Linked DNA regions of Homo sapiens: region 1 is linked to region 2. Evidence: promoter capture Hi-C in 16 types of primary human blood cells and fetal thymus (Javierre and others, 2016). All regions are on one chromosome and are shown on one strand. The core of a region is centred on a gene start or on the middle of the fragment in contact, and the rest is flanking DNA. Distances in the headings are between cores, read along the strand shown.

Region 1 (2,927 bases), core at 364-2,863, 580 kb before region 2:
CTAACAACCACCACCATCACTGCATCTACTAATGCCACTGGTTGCTTCGGGCTCCCCTAAGGACAAGGGTCAGGGTGTGGTGCAGTTCCCATCCTTCGCGCTGCAACACGAGCTGCAGTAGCTCAGGCACCCAGACCTGAGGCAGGTCTGGCTTTCTGAGAAGTCCTCCAGAAGGGCTCCCAGGGAAACAGCCTAGAATGCAGGGGAATCAGCCTCCCAAAAGGTGAACTTTGATTAATGAGAGATAGGAGGTGGGCAGGCACTGGCAGGTAGAGTGCTCTCCTCTCCTCCAGGGTCTCCACGCAGCCTGTCCAGAGAAACCCCGCATGGCCCCTGATCTGCTCTGGCCCCTCCACACCTCCCTGGATCTGTGGTTCCTGCCTGCCTGCCTGCCTGCCTCATTTCTCTTTGTTCTCCACTCTTGCTTCCGTGAGATGAAACCAACCAAAAAAGCATTTGTGCCTAAGCTTGGCCTCTGGCTGTGTATTTTGGGATCTCAAACTAAGACAAAGAGAAACTAATATTTGTGGGTCCCTATTATGTGCCAGGCACCGTGAACCTTACCCAAGTTATCTTACTTCATCCTTACGAAAACTGTAAGGTAGTGATTATTAACTCAGTCTTCCAGATAAGGAAACTGAAGAAAGAGGAAACCGTGGAGCCAGCTATTAACTGGTGGAGCGGGAAATGTGAGGCAAAATCAAACATTGAAACATGCGGTGCCCCCTTCGGTTTTGTACCTTTTGTGGCTCCCTAGTGTCTGATCCTTTGGGGAGCCTGCAGTTTCGTCAGTTACATCCTGCAACAGTTTGGGATAGGTTGAAACCTCAGCAGCATCTGACCCATAAAAGAATGTTACTGCGGGGCCTCCCTAAAAGACAAGGGAGGAATCAAGAGAATTCCAAGAAAGGCGTCCGAGCAGGAGGTAAGACAGTAGATTTGAAAGCAGGACTGAGGGAGCAGGAATGGGAAGAGGGGCCCAGCCCCAGCGGGTCAGGGGCCGGACTAGGCTAGCGAGGCCCAAGTGCGGTGGCCCCATGCAGAGATCCTGGCTCGGTGCAAAGGAGATGCCGCTCCCACCGTCTGCAGGAGGCAAGGGCTCCCCTTCCCCGGCCAGGAGCCGGGTGCAAGAGGAGCCTGGGGAGGGAGCTCCAGGCCTGGAGCAAAGGCTCCTCCTAGGGGCCCGCGGTCGGCAGAGAGCGCGGGACACTCACGGCCATGGAGAGCAGCCCGCCCGGTGAATGGAGCCTTTCTCTGGGCACTTGGCAGAACTCGGGGGCCCTCTGTGCAGAGAGGAGGCCCACTGGAATAGAAATAACCTCTGGCTTGCAGAAGCATTTTGTGGAAAGATTCAGGAGCTCAGTAGGCAGAGCAGTCCCAAGAAAGACATTTGGAATGTTGAAACTTTTAGAAGAAAATCCAGACCGTTTTTAGGGCCTCGGGTAAAAAATCACTCTTAAACAAGACACCAAAAGTTCAAGGAAAAGAGGAAGGGTGACTTCACTAAAATTAAGAACTTCTAGTCATAAAAAAACATGACACAGAGAAGACAATCCAGAGACTGGACTCGATCACTGTAACACCTACACCTGGCAAAGAATTCCTGTCCAGAATCTATTTTTAAAACTTCGACAAATCAATAAGAATGAACAATTTAATTTTTTCAATGGGGAAAAGACATGAACAGGCATTTCAGGGATAAGGAAATACAAAAAGACCACCAACATATGAAAAAATGGTCAGCCTCCTTAGTAATAAGGGAAATGCAAACTAAAATAAAAATTAGATACAATTCCACAGCCACGAGGCTGGCAGAAATTTAAAACACAGGCAATCAAGCAGGGGCAAGGATGTAGAACAATGAGAATTCTCATACATGGTTGGTAGGAGAGTTGATTGTTACCACCACTTGGAACAGTTTGGCCTTATCTGATAAAATTAAAGACACGCATACCTTATGACTCAGTAATTCCACTTCTAGATAAATATTAACTCTCATATATAGGCAGTAGGAGAAATAAACAAGCATGGTTTAAAATAGTCCCAAATTGGAAACAACTCAAATGTCCATTTGCTGTAGGAGGAATAAATTCTAACACAGTCCCATAGTGGAAACTATGTAGCTATGAAAATGAATAAACTACAGCTGTACCCATCAACATAGATCACAGATGTGAAAAGCAAGTTATAAAAGAATACTTACAGTATGATTCCCTTGATAAAAGTTTAGAGGCAAGAAAAACTAGGGATAATACTTATAAGGTAAAGCTCTTTCTCAAAAGTAGGAGAGGCTGAATGCAGTGGCTCATGCCTATAATCCCAGCACTTTGGGAGGCTGAGGCAGGATTGCTTGACTCCAGGAGTTTGGGACCTCCCTGGGTAACATAGTGAAACTGCATCTCTAAAAATAAAAACAAAAAAGTAAACAGGTGTGGTGGCATGTGCCTGTGGTCCCAGCCACCTGGGAGGCTGAAGTGGGAGGATCAGTTGAGCCCGGGAGATCAAGGGTGTAATGAGCTATGATCACACCACTACACTCCAGCCTAGGTGACAGAGTGAGACCCTATCTCAAAAAAATAAAAAGCAAGAGAAAGATTAATGCAAAATCGAGGATAGGAGAGTGAAGAGAATGCATCAGGGAAGAACAATAGGAGCTTTGCAGGCACTGGTAGTATTTTTTCTAAAGTTTAGTGTGCGGTTTGTTTTATTGTTATTCCTTAAACTATACTTACACGTTATATATATATTCTTGTATGAATGAAGCTTTCACCAAAAGCTTTTTTTAAGAATGAGAGTTAGGCTTTTTTCAAGGGCAGTGAGACCACTATCAGAGATTTTTCTATGTAGCTGAGATCCATCCTAGTTGGACTGAGGGTGTAAGAACATCAGGACAAAGGAGCTGGGGTGGGGAGGGGTGCTAACAGGGA
Region 2 (3,123 bases), core at 453-2,952:
TCATCCCACCTCACCAAGTGCAAGTGAGTGAAACGGGACCACAGCAAGAGGGCAGGCAATGGTTGGGCAAAACACACACGACCGTCTCATTACACACACCCCCATTAGGAATCATCACACTCAGGCTCTGGAGAGGCTGCCAACAGAAGGGATGGGGCTCCGGCATTACAGAGCTCCTCTCTACATTCCAGGCTTTGACCCATCACAGTCTCCAATGAGGAAGCTGGGGCCCACAGAAGGTCAGCCACCTGCCTGAGTTGACACAAGAAAAACTTGGTCTCTCTGGCAAAGATCCAGCTCCCTTGGGAAGCCTGCTTGTTCACCCCACAGCTAACAAATCGGGAGGCCTCAAGGAGGTGGGCAGGGTCAGTGCGGGTCTCATTCCTGCCAGCCAGGAACTTACCCCAGAGGAGCAGACCTCCAGCCACATCCACACACCCCTGACCCCTCTGCCCAAGTCTCCTCTGAAGGTGCTGAATCATCAGTGGTGCCACTTGAGGGTGCTCAAAAAACATCTTGGGAGATGAGCGGTTTGGGGAAGGACAGGGCTGTGAAGTTAGCTGTGAAGAGGCCAAGGCACCACGGCCTCTTAGGTCAACAGGACTCTCCCAGGAATATCTTCCACAGAGGCAGTTGGGAGTCGCAGTGTCAGAAACCAGAGTGGCTGCCCTCCACAGGATTCCAGGATACAAGATGTCAGGCGCTGTCCCTGCACCTGCCCGCTTGCCCCCGAGGCAGCCAGCTATGGTGCCCTCTCCTCCAGTGTGCACCACTGCCTTACCATTACCTGCACGGCCTCAACGAGGCTCACCTCTCTGGACCTTGTTTTCTCTTTTGTAAAGTAAGAATACCAATTTCCACCGTGCAGAGTTACGGTGAGGGTTAGCCAGACCTATGCAAGCCTTGGGACCTCCAAAATGCCTAGCCCAGAGTCCTAGTCAACTGTTGGCAACGCCCTTCCAAGCCGTTCCACCCCAACCTGCAGCACACCTGCTGGCCGCCCCCACGCCCATCCTAGCTCTACCCCAGGCCGGGGCGCCTGACGGCGGGGACCCCAGCTTCATTCAGCCCCAGAGGAAGCTCAGACATCTGAGCACCCTCCTCGCATCACATCCTTGTGCCAGGCGGGAGCAAGAGGTGAGAGAGTCAGCCCAAGCTGAGAAGACTTGGCCGGGAGCCGGGCGTGCTCTGCCCGTTCCAGGGGGCCTAACTCGATGGACGTCTGTCTCCCATCTCCCTGCTGGGTGCTTGGCTCTGCCCGCCGCCTCTACCCTGTCTCCCAGGTCAAAGTGCCAGGCTCCGGAGGGCGCCCCAGGGCAGCGGCGGGCAGCTCCCGCGCTCGGGTGCCGGCCACAATGCCCCGGGCCACGGCGTCAGGCATTGGGGCGGCGGGCCCGGGATCTGCGAGCGAGTGCCCCGGATCTCTTCGCCCCGCCAGCCCCAGACCCGGGCGCTGCTGCCGTCAGGCCGCGCGCCCCGTCCCGCCCATCGAGCCCGCAGACGGGTGCTACTCACGGCGGGAGGCTGAGCTGCCGCGGTCGCGGCCGCGGCAGGCGCGGCGGGAGCGGCGGGCGCGGCGGGCGCGGCGGGCGCGGCGGGCGCGGCGGGAACGGGGGACGCGGCGGGGTGCGCTGGGCTCGGCCCTGCAGTCCTCTCCTCCCAGAGCGCCCGGCACCCGCCCGCCGAGCAGCCTAGGAGCCGAGGGGGCGGAGCGGCCAGCCCCGTCCCAGGCGCCGGCTGGAGGCGCGCCCGGCTGCCCGGGACGGGGCTCGGGGCGCCCCCTGCTGGAGCCCCCTCCGGACAGTCCCGGGGCGAGAGCCCAGCTTCCCGGCCGGGTAGGGGACACCTCAGGGCTCCCAGACTCCCGGGAGAGCGGGGAGAGTCGGTAGCAAGACCCTCTGCGCGTCCCTACCGGCTCTACCGCGCACATGCTGCGTGGCCTTGGGCAAGTCGGCTACCCTCCCCCGGCCTTATCTGGAAATCGATTTGAATGAGCTTATACGTATGACATGGTCTGGCACAATCCTCAGAAAATGGTACTTGTGTGCTCCTCTCCCCACCATACACACCGTGAGCGAGGAAGCCCCACTGAGGAATAGGCCGTCTCCTCCCTCCCAGCCAGAGCGCTCCCTACACCGCAGACTCTCCTGGAAACCTCAAGCCCACAGCGTACAGCAAGGTGGGGGCTGCGATGAGAAGGGCCGCTCTGCTCCTCACTGCCCCCGACCCAGCCTGAGAGCGGCCTGCCCTCGTTTGCCCTTTGTCCTGGCACGGTTGCTGAGTGAAGCCCCCCTCTCACCATCACGCCTTCTCTAATAGAGGACTTGGGAATGGGTTCCTCTCTCTGCCCTCTGCCAAAAAATCCCTGAGGAAAAAAGGAATGAGAGTGAGGGGGTGAAGGGAGGAAGGAAGGGAAAACAGAACTTAAGCCAAGTTCATTTGTCTTATTTCAAAACAAGAGGCTGTTTAGAGGAAGCAAATGAGGACCCCTCCAACCCCTGGAATTTCCATCCCTAAGTCACCCATGGGGCTCCTCAAAAGGGCCTTAGATTCAGAGTCCTACCACCAGGTTCAAAGCCCTGCCCTGCCACTCCGCATGTGTGTTCTTGGGCATGGCTCTTTCTTCATCAGTAAAGTGGGAGAAACGCACCTTCCGGTAGCTCCTAATGAAGCTATGGTGGGGCTGAGATGAGATGGAGTGTGTAAGATGCACCTAGAGGACCTCTACCAGTGTGAGCACACACACACCCTTCAGCCTTTTGGACATTGGGACAAATACAGATGGACCCCACCCCCCAGCTGAGCAGTGCCTCCGGGTCCAGGACATCCTCGGCAAAGAGTTCCTTGTTTATAAACTTCACAATAATTCAGAACAGTGCAGCCAGCGAGCCTCCTCTCCTAAGAGCAGCATGATATATAGAGTAATATCCAAGACTAGAGGTGGTTTCTGATGTCAACGGACCTAAGGGAATGACACCCACTGGTGAAGTTTCACCAACATGAGAAGTCCCCCACCAAACTATCCCTAAACACCTCTTCCTCCATTTCCATTTACCTATCACTGGTGACAAACCATTACCAGCCTTGGTGGCACAGGACAACAGTTTCACTATGTTCATGCAT

The links. Contacts are between HindIII fragments. The CHiCAGO score rates a contact against its expected background, and 5 or more counts as called.
Region 1: a fragment that was not itself captured here is called in contact with the fragment with the promoter of DAPK2 in region 2 in 1 of 17 cell types (endothelial precursors); the score reaches 5.4 in endothelial precursors.

The regions. Positions count from the first base shown.
Region 1 is chr15:63,460,298-63,463,224 of GRCh38, forward strand. No RefSeq gene overlaps it. Among named protein-coding and RNA genes, the nearest start is that of USP3, 43 kb to the right of the region's middle. The HindIII fragment of the contact is 2,296 bases long and covers 466-2,761 here.
Region 2 is chr15:64,044,783-64,047,905 of GRCh38, forward strand. DAPK2 (death associated protein kinase 2) reads right to left here and starts at 1,703. Exons shown (of 12, transcript NM_014326.5): 1 at 1,516-1,703. RefSeq lists enhancers at 1-36, 87-136 and silencers at 1,337-1,556, 1,587-1,646, 1,667-1,876. The HindIII fragment of the contact is 10,777 bases long and covers 1-3,123 here.